Linked DNA regions of Homo sapiens: region 2 is linked to region 1. Evidence: promoter capture Hi-C in 16 types of primary human blood cells and fetal thymus (Javierre and others, 2016). All regions are on one chromosome and are shown on one strand. Each heading gives the region's core, a stretch centred on a gene start or on the middle of the fragment in contact. The rest is flanking DNA. Distances are from core to core; before and after follow the strand shown.

The links. The method cuts DNA at HindIII sites, captures the fragments that hold promoters and counts their contacts. A CHiCAGO score of 5 or more calls a contact.
Region 2: a fragment that was not itself captured here is called in contact with the fragment with the promoter of ZFPM1 in region 1 in 1 of 17 cell types (activated CD4 T cells); the score reaches 5.2 in activated CD4 T cells.

The regions. Positions count from the first base shown.
Region 1 is chr16:88,450,082-88,455,135 of GRCh38, reverse strand. It overlaps ZFPM1 (zinc finger protein, FOG family member 1), which reads right to left and starts at 1,856. Exons shown (of 10, transcript NM_153813.3): 1 at 1,458-1,856. The coding sequence starts at 1,497. RefSeq lists silencers at 852-921, 1,142-1,271, 1,732-1,821, 1,832-2,131. The HindIII fragment of the contact is 8,831 bases long and covers 1-5,054 here.
Region 2 is chr16:87,767,621-87,772,578 of GRCh38, reverse strand. The region is part of intron 1 of LOC105371399 (a long non-coding RNA gene); the gene reads right to left. All of the region lies in intron 3 of LOC102724467 (a long non-coding RNA gene), which reads left to right. Among named protein-coding and RNA genes, the nearest start is that of KLHDC4, 4.1 kb to the right of the region's middle. The HindIII fragment of the contact is 483 bases long and covers 2,955-3,437 here.

The DNA.
Region 1 (5,054 bases), core at 607-3,106:
CACCCCAGAACCGAACATAGGCGCTCAGGGAAGGAAGGAAAAAGAAACCAGAGCACAAGCGCGGATCGGGACCTGTGGGTGGCTTTTAATACTTGAGTTGACACGATAGAAGGCGACTTTCGGAAAACAGGTCCCGTTTGCGCTGAGGGAGTTGGGTTACGGGAACCGGTTCATGCCTGTGACCCCCGCCTCGGGAGACCTCCTGAGTAGGGAAGCTCCCACAGGCCCCGCACAAGGGGTCCTGGTGGCAGTGGTCGTGTGGACAAAGGAGGTAGTGCCCGGGCGCCTACGGCTGGGCAGCGGGCGGGTTTCCGTCGTGGCCTCCTGGCAGGGCTCAGACGACCTGCCCGTCAGGCTCCGGGGAGGCGCCCCGGGGAGGAAGACCTGCGTCTGGGCCCTAACTGTGAGGCGCAAAGTTATTATTGGCATAGGGTGGGGAGGGTAGCTTCCTGTGCTCTTGCTCCCTCCTGGCACAGCCCAGAGGCCCAGGCCAGACAGTGGCCCCGACAGCTTAGTTCTCATCGCGGGGGCACTGGCAATGTGGCGGCGGGGCAGCAGCCTCTGACCGGGCAGGGAGCCGGACCAGCGAGAAACTTAGTGGCGTGCAGGGGCGACCCCGGCCCGGGGCTGCGTCCTGGGAGGCCCTTCTCTGACTCAGAGCAGCCCATTGGGATGCCAGGGGGTGCCCGCGGGCATCCGAGGGCACCATTTGTTGCCCATGCCGCCTTGGCTGGGACACTTGCAGGGTCCAGGAGGTGTCACCAGGCTGGCGGGGCCTGGGTTCAGGACTTCAGCGCTAGGGCACGGGGTGGGGGTGTCTGGGGGGCTGGAGCCAAGTGCCTAGGCTGCGGCAGCTGCGCGCTACCCCCTCCCCTGTCCTGCGGCTCTGCGACGGCACCGGTGGGGGTGGGCGCGGGCCGGTGCCTGCCACTTGGCCAGGCATCTCCGCGGCCCCGGGTGTCCCCTCTGCCTCCCAGGTCTCTCTCTTCGCTTCTAGATACAAAGCCTGGGAGAGTCAACCGCGCGAGATAAGATCACAATTTCAGCCCGTCCCGACAGAACGATCTTATCAGGACGGGACTTGCAGAATGTAATATTTTAAACTTTATCTGAGCCCAGATCGGGGCCGCCCTATCGCCGCACCATCTCGCAGATGCGGGGGAGGGGCAGGCCGCGAGGGGCCGAGCTGCCCGGGCCGCGCCCCCAAACACCCTCCTCCCGGCCTCCGGGCGGCCCCCTCCTGGGCTGAACCCCCCGGTGCCCAAGCCGAGACGCGGGGGCCCAGGCCGCCGGCGGAGATTAGATTACGGCGCGCTTGGCACAGCGCGGGGGGCGCGGCGCGGGGTGAAGGTCGCCGGCGCCCAGGGCAGAGCGGGGACGGGCGGGGGCGGCGCTGGCGGCTGGGCTCCGGCGGGGGTCGGGCGCGCGGAGGGGACCGCGGGCAAAGTTTGACTCACGCTTGATCTGCCGGGGGTTGCTCTGTTTCCGCCTGGACATGTCTCCGGCGCCGCGCGCCCTCCCGGCGGCCGCCTCTAGCCCCGGGCGGGCGGCGGCGGGCGGCGGGGGCGCGGCGGGGCCGCGGGGCCGCTCATGCCCCCGGCCCCCGGTCTCCGCGGCCGCCCCGGCCCGCGCCCCCAGCCCGCGCGCCCAGCCCCGGAGCCGCTGGAGCTGCCGCGGAGGCCCGAGAGGCCACGGTCCTGCGTTGCGGGCGCGCGGACTGCCCGACGGGCGGGTGCCGGCTCCTCCGCTCCCGCGCACTCGCCGCCGCCGCCGCGGCCGCTCGGCTTTTCTCAATGGAACCCGCGGGCGGCGAGCGGCGGAGCAGGCGGCCACTGCGAGGGCGCTCCTGGCGGGCTGGAGGCACGGGGCGGGGCCGGGCCTGAGCGTCGTCGGCCGCCGCACCTCCCGCCCCGCCCCCGGCGCTCCGGCCCCGCCCCGTGCCTCCTGCCGGGCCCTGCACCTCTCCGGCTCCGCCCCCAGCGCCGCGGCCACGCCCCCGCCAGCCCGGCTCTTCGTTGCTCTGGCTCCGCCCCCAGAGCCGCGACCGCGCCCCCGCCCGCCTCGCTCTTTACGGCGCTGGCTCCGACCCCAGCGCTGCGGCCCCGCCCCTGTCCGTCTGGGCCTTCAAGGCACTGTCCCCGCCCCGCTCGATGCCCCGCCCCTTCCTGGTTCGGCCCCGCCCGCGCCCCGGGGAGACCTCTAGCCTCCCCCACTCCTCTTTGGCCCGGAGGTCATGTCCCCAGGCCGCGCTGGGAGTCTGAGACCTATTCGGTTCTGTTCTGCTGCCCCGCGGCACCGCATCCTGCGCCCCGCCTCTCGGCGCCAGCTCCGCCTCCAAACCTGACCCGACCTGGTTGGGTCCTGAGACGCCGAGGCTCCGCCCCCGCACTGTAACTCCGCCCCCAGCCCTTGGTCCCTCCCTAGACCCCTGGGCTCTGCCGCACGCTCCACGTGCGCGGTGGGGGCAGTGACAACCGGCTCAGGAAGCCCGAGGCCTTGACGCCCACGTTTCTCTTGGGCCAGACTTGGGGTGTGGAGCGGATTCGGGCCAGGGAGGGGGCTTCCGTCCCAGACTGCGGTGGGGTCCGCCAACTGAGAGCAGGATCTCGGGTCTTCCCCTGTGAGCTCAGACCAGGCTGGAAATCGAGGAGGGGGCGCGGGAGCCGGCAGCCCTGGGCGTTGCCACTTGGGGCCTCTTTCCTCACCGAGCCTCTCCAGGGCGCCCCGCAGGAGACCCACGAAGGAGTTGCCCACAGCGCCCGGGCCACAGCCCCCTCTCGGAGCAGTCAGAGGTCAGCGAGGTTTGTGGGCGCGGTGCTGTCAGCTCAGGCCTGGAAATGGAGAACTGTTGCCCTCTGGGGTGTGTTCAAGAGCCCCACTTCACGGAGGCTCGGGGACTTGCTCAAGGTCACGCATTGGGGGGCTGTCCCCCACTCCCAGCTGAGTTGTATCATCTCCTTTTAATGTTCTCGGTCTACACTTGCTACCTGCTCCCCCATCCCCCGTACTCATAAGAAACGGGCGTCAGTGGGCCCAGGGGCAGACAGGAAGGACCCCTCCCACCTGATGATGAGATCATCGCACAGCAGGACTGTCACACCACCCGCCAGCCTGCTGGGAGCTCCTAAGACCCCATCTCGTGCCAACTTCTGTGACCTATTCCCTGGCTCCAAGGAAGGGGAGAAGTGGGGGCTTACCCTCAGAGCCTGGTACAGGAGAGTGGCGGGTGGGTAGGAGAGGCAGGGGTACAACACTGGATATGCGCCGTCCCTCCCCACTGCCATGGACAGACAGGAACACTGAGACCAGGAGGCCAAGAGAGCTGCCCAGGGGCATACGGGTCCTCCAGCCCTTCCTGCTCTCTGCCAGGGTCCAGTGGGCACAGCCTTCCCACAGCTGCTCTCTGGAGGGGGTGGGGCCCATGTCTGATTGGTTCACTCAACCTAGGACCTCCCCCCCACCCTCCCGCCCCCACCCAGTGCTTGTCAACTGGATGGAGCACCTACCTGTCTGGGTTTCCCACCAGGCCTCGCCTCCTTCCCCAAAGAAGTCCACTTTAGAGTATGTGGACCTGTGAGTTAGGGGAGTTCCTGGAGGAGGTGGCCATGGGCTGGCACCTGGGCTGGGTCTGAAGCTCCACGCACAGCAAGTGGCACCCAGGCTGGCGCTGCTGGAACGGGCGGAGATCTGTGTTGAGGTGGATTCCGAGGGTCAACAGGAGACAGCCATGATCATCCATGATTGATGTCTGTCTAGGCTGCAGGAGGAGACGATGGGGATCATTTTGGCTGCTGCTTTGCCTGATCTGATTTATTTCTATGAGCCCATATATAGATGAAAACATGGAGGGACATGCCCAGGGAAGCCAGCGAAGGGGGCAGGCGGCAGGTCCAGACCACAGCCTGCTGCCCTGCCTCCATCACTTGCAAGGCCCCATGCAAAATGAAAATATGAAAATGTGGAGCCCCCTTGATCAAAACCCCCAAACCCCAAAACCCCAGGGCATCAAGGGCAGGATGTTGAGCCCGGTGTGGTGCCCTTCCCAGCTCGGGCCCTGTGCCCCTGCACCGGTCACAGGTCCCCTAACCCTGCCAGGGCTGCTTTTGTAGCACATTCCTTCTACACTCTGTCCCTCTACCTGCCCGGAGGAAGGCATTATTACAGATGAGAAAACCGCAGCCAAGAGGGGAGGCTGCCTGCTGATGTCGAGTGGTAAAGCTGCAGGACCTTGCACACACCATTAAACCCTCAGGGTGGTCATGACGATAACCATACACTGAGGAAGAGACACAAGGCATGCTGTCTAGAGGATGGTCTGGGGGAGCCCAGAGCAGGAGCGGCCATCTCTGCCTGGGGAAATCAGAGAAGGCTTTCTGGAGAAGGTGACATCCAAGTGGGGCTTTCCAGGAGTCCCTGATCAGGTGGGAGAGGAACAGGGCGTGGGGTTGCTGAGGCTGTCCAGGCTGAGCCCACCTAGGACCTCCACCCCCCACCTGCTGCCCATTGTGAACCCCAGTTTCCATCTGCCCCTGCATGTTCTCGAGGTGTGTTGAGATTCACATCCAAAGTCACTGGTGGGGAAGTTGGAATTGCATTCAGGAGCTGCACTGGGTTCTCCCCTGCTGGCTCCCAGGGAGAGCAGGGCCTGGAACACATAGGAAGTGCTGTCTGGCAGTGGCCTGGAGACTGCCTCCCCTCCAAAAACAACCTCAGCCCAAAGAAGACATTTTTGGGGTTTGAGAAGTGGGGGTGTGCAGGGGTGGGCTGGGCCAGTGGACATGGAATTCCAGCCTTCTATTAGGAGTAGAGGGGTGTGATGGGGCAAATGCCTTACTATGCTTCTACTCTGCCTCAGCCCTGCCCCTGATGCTGGGTCGGTTTCAGGGGAGGTTCTCCTGTGCGTTGCCGACCCTGTACATTTGGAGGTAAGGGAGGAGGCACTCTGAGATGGCCTCCTCTCCCAGCTCCCCAGCCTCCTCTCCCCTTTCCGGGACCTGTGTCAGCATCACCAGCACAGCACTGACTTTGTGCTTCCAGGCTGTGCCAGGTCCGTG
Region 2 (4,958 bases), core at 1,947-4,446, 680 kb after region 1:
GAAAGTAGCAACAAAAACAGGCCACTGGGCTCTGAGACAGCTTTTAGTTTCACGCATGAGCCGATCTTGCCATACTTACCTTTGGTTTTGACAGCCTCCAAGGGCAAGAAAAACATAATCAAATCCAAGGGTGTCCAAGGTGGGATCTAAGAGAGAACTCCCCAGATTAAGCCAAGATTTCAAGAGTTCTGCCCCAAAAGGGTAAGATTGAAGCAGGCCTCACCCTACCCCCATGACCTAAGGAACCACAGAAATCAGCTCAATGCTATGGGAGACGATCTCACAGCCTGGCCAATTTTTATATTTTTAGTAGTGATGGGGTTTTGCCATGTTGGCCAGGCTGGTCTTGAACTCCTGACCTCAGGTGATCTACTCACTTCAGACTTCCAAAGTGCTGGGATTACAGGTGGGAGCCACTGTCCCTGGCTGTAGGATTCCATTTTGTAAAACCCTAGAAAAATGGAAACTAATCAAGAGTTTCTTTTTATTTTATTTATTTATTTATTTATTTATTTATTTATTTGAGCCTGAGTCTCGCTCTGTCACCCAGGTGATCTCGGTGCGATCTCAGCTCACTGCAACTTCCATCTCGCGGGTTCAAGTGATTCTCCTGCCTCAGCCTCCCGAGTAGCTGGGATTACAGGTGTGTGCCACCACGCCCAGCTAATTTTTGTGTTTGTAGTAGAGACGGGTTTCACCATATTGGCAAGGCTTGTCTTGAACTCCTGACCTCAAATGATCTGCCCACCTTGGCCTCCCAAGGTGCTAGGATTACAGGTGTGAGCCATCATGCCCAGCCACATTTCTTTTTTTTTTTTTTTTTTTTTTTTTTGAGACGGAGTCTCACTCTGTTGCCCAGGTTGGAGTGCAGTGGCACAGTCTTGGCTCACTACAACCTCTGCCTCCCAGGTTCAAGCAGTTCTCCTGCCTCAGCCTCCCGAGTAGCTGGGATTACAGGCATATGTCACCACGTCCAGCTAACTTTTGTATTTTTAGTAGAGATGGGGTTTCACCATGTTGGCCAGGCTGGTCTTGAACTCCTGATCTCAAATGATCCACCCACCTTGACCTCCCAAAGTGTTGGAATTACAGGCATGAGCCACCGCGCCTGGCCACATTTCTCTTTTTAATAAAACCCCCAACCTTCTCTTTGTTCTTTGGACATATTGAAGTTCACCCCAGCCTGTGGATATGCCTCAAAATATAATTCTATGATTCCCATACAAGGTGTTTTGTTTAGAGATCCATCTCTATATTTTTATTTGACCTTGATAGTATTTTTTTTTTTTTTGAGATGGAATCTCACTCTGTCGCCCAGGCTGGGGTGCAGTGGCGCGATCTCAGCTCACTGCAAGCTCTGCCTCCCGGGTTCACGCCATTCTCCTGCCTCAGCCTCTCCAGCAGCTGGGACTACAGGCACATGCCGCCACGCCTGGCTAATTTTTCTATTTTTAGTAGAGACGGGGTTTCACTGTGTTAGCGAGGATGGTCTCGATCTCCCGATCTTGTGATCTGCCTGCCTCGGCCTCCCAAAGTGCTGAGATTACAGGCGTGAGCCACTGTGCCTGGCCAGACCTTGATAGTATTAATACATATTAAATTCTACACTTTAATTTATTGTTTTAATTAGAAGAACATCACTTATTGCTTTATGCTATGACACTGGAAAATCGGCCGGGCGCGGTGGCTCATATCTGTAATCCCAGCACTTTGGGAGGCTGAGGCGGGCGGATCACGAGGTCAGGAGATCGAGACCATCCTGGCTAACATGGTGAAACCCCGTCTCTACTAAAAATACAAAAAAAAATTAGCCGGGCATGGTGGCGGGCGCCTGTTTTCCCAACTACTTGGAAGGCTGAGGCAGGAGAATGGCGTGAACCCGGAAGGCGGAGCTTGCAGTGAGCCGAGATAGCGCCACTGCCCTCCAGCCTGGGAGACAGAGTGAGACTCCGTCTCAAAAAAAAAAAAAAAAAAAAAGAAAAAAAATTGGACAATCTTGATGAAGAAGACGGGACACATGTTTCCAGGTTTCCAATTTGGAACTTCAAGGCTGACAAATTCCATACTCATTTCTCATCATCCCTTGAGGCCCCTCCTGAGTGGGTGGCCCTTCTCATAGGGCAGGGGACAACTGTAGATCCCTCTTGCTCCTCAGCAGCCACCTGCCTCACCCCAGCCACCTGTGCACACTTGAAATATATACAGTTTATTGTATATAAGCAACACATAGATAAATCCCTGATTATAGTTGGAAATCTTATTATTCCTCTCTCTGGAATGGATTCAAAGAAGTGGGAAAAATTCAGTAAGGCCAGCATGGTGGCTCACGCCTGTAATCCCAGCACTTTAAGATGCCCAGTCGGGTGGATCACGTGAGGTCAGGAGTTTGAGACCAGCTTGGCCTACATGGTGAAACCTTGTCTCTATAAAACATACAAAAATTAGCTGGGTGTGGTGGCAGATGCCTGTAATCCCAGCTACCTGGGAGGCTGAGGTAAGAACTTGGGAGCCGGAGGTTGCAGTGAGCTGAGATAGTGCCACTGCACTCCAGCCTGGGTGACAGAGTGAGACTCTGTCTCAAAAAAAAAAAAAAAAAGCCTTTGTGTTTTGCTTTTTTACTTCCCTAAGCTTTATTTTATTTATTTTTAATTTTTATTTTTTGAGACGGAGTCTCACTCTGTCGCCCAGGCTGGAGTGCAATGGTGCGATCTTGGCTCACTGCAAGCTCCGCCTCCCGGGTTCACGCCATTCTCCTGCCTCAGCTTCCCGAGTACTGGGACTACAGGCGCCCGCCACCGCGCCCGGCTAATTTTTTGTATTTTTAGTAGAGACGGGGTTTCACCGTGTTAGCCAGGATGGTCTTGATCTCCTGACCTCGTGATCCACCCGCCTCAGCCTCCCAAAGTGCTGGGATTACAGGCGTGAGCCACCGCGCCTGGCCTCTTTCCTAAGCTTTATTATTGTTTCACTTGATTTTCCCAAGAATCCTGTGTAATAGGTGAACTAGTTCATTATTCCCACTTTCCTGCTGGGAAACGTGCAAAGAGCCACGTAATCCATACCACACTTGGCAGAACCTTCCAATCACATTGATTACTTGTGGTGAGGATAATTAGAAGTTAGCATATTTTCCTAAAATTTAATCTATTATTAATAGATTTTTTTTCTCTTCTGCACTTCAACTTGAAGGCAGCAGAGGGCGCCTGATCACACAAAAGATACACTCTAAAAGTCAGCGACAGATTAAAGATAATCCATGAAAGTTTCAACAATGTGAATTTTACTAAAATAGAGCCTTGTACTTAATCTTTTGACTATTTTAGGATCTGATCTCATTTTAGATGTTCTATTCCGTCTTTCTCAGTATGAGAATTTCAGTCTCACGTAAATCACCATGACACCTATAATCCAAGAGCCTTCTAATTTAGCTTCAAGCTTCTTTCAGATAATAAAAGTATTAAACCCCGCATCCACCAGATCCTCCTAAATCTTCAATAGGTCATACGCTCTCCCTGTCTCCGGCCTGAAGTGGGCACCACTGTAATGTACTGCAGCCAGATGTGCTGTGAATGAAGAGCCTTTTGGCTTCAAGTGCATTGCCTCAGGTTTACCCAGGATTTTTAGAAAAATATTAAAGGATTACGTATGTTCTTAAAGTCATAGTACACTAGAGGGGACAGAACTATTTCCCGAGGGCAATAGTGAGGATTTAGCCTTTTGTAGTTCGTCATGGAAGATAAACATGCCTGGATGCCCAGGCTGGGTTTCTGTGAAATTCTCCAGCTCCTTTCTGCTCAGCTCCTAACCGGTTTTTTTTTTCTACCACCACATAGGTTTCCTACAAGCAGTGCTGGAGACCATGGTGGTCTTCAACCAGTGCTATCTTTTCTTCTCATTATTTCCCCAAATTTCATTTTTCTTCTTAAAGAGCTAGGTTTATGGATAAGGCTTGGAGTGGGTTGGAAAATCATTCCTCCTCAGCTGCTCAGTGACTAGTCATTGATTGGATCTAAGGTAACTTTTTTTGTTTTTGAGACAGAGTTTCGCTTTTGCTGCCCAGGCTGGAGTGCAATGGCGTGATCTGGGCTCACCGCAACCTTTCCTCCCGGTTCAAGCAATTCTCCTACCTCAGCCTCCTGAGTAGCTGGGATTAAAGGTGCACACCACCACACCTGGCTAATTTTTTTGTATTTTTGTAGAGACGGGGTTTCACCATGTTGGCCAGGCTGGTTTTGAACTCCTGACCTCGTGATCTGCCCACCTTGGCCTCCCAAAGTGCTGGGATTACAGATGTGAGCCACTACGCCTGGCCGAGTTAACTTCTTCTTTTTTTTTTTTTTTTTGAGACGGAGTCTAGCTCTGTTGCCCAGGCTGGAGTGCAGTGGTTCAGTCTCGGCTCACTGCAACCTCTGTCTCCCAGGCTCAAGCCATTCTCCTGACTCAGCCTCCCGAGTAGCTGGGATTACAGGTGCGCACCACCATGCCTGTCTAATTTTGTATTTTTAGTGGAGATGGGGTTTCACCATGTTGATCAGGCTGGTCTCAAACTCCTGACCTCAGGTGATCTGCCTGCCTCTGCCTCTCAAAGTGCTAGGATTACAGGCGTGAGCCATCACACCTGGCTGGATCTAAGATAACATCTTTTTTTTTTTTTTTTTTTGAGATGGAGTCTTGCTTTGTCGCCCAGGCTGGAGTGCAGTGGTGCAATCTCCGCTCACTGCAACCTCTGCCGCCTAGGTTCAAATGATTCTTTTGCCTCAGCCTCCTGAATAGTTGGGACTACAGGTGGGTGCCACCACACCTGGCTAATTTTTTTTTTTTTTTTTGTATTTTTAGTGGAGACAGGGTTTCACCATATTGGCCAGGCTGGTCTTGAACTCCTGACCTCGTGATCAGCCCGCTTCAGCCTCCCAAAGTGCTGGGATTACAGGAATGAACCACCACGCCTGGCCTAAGAG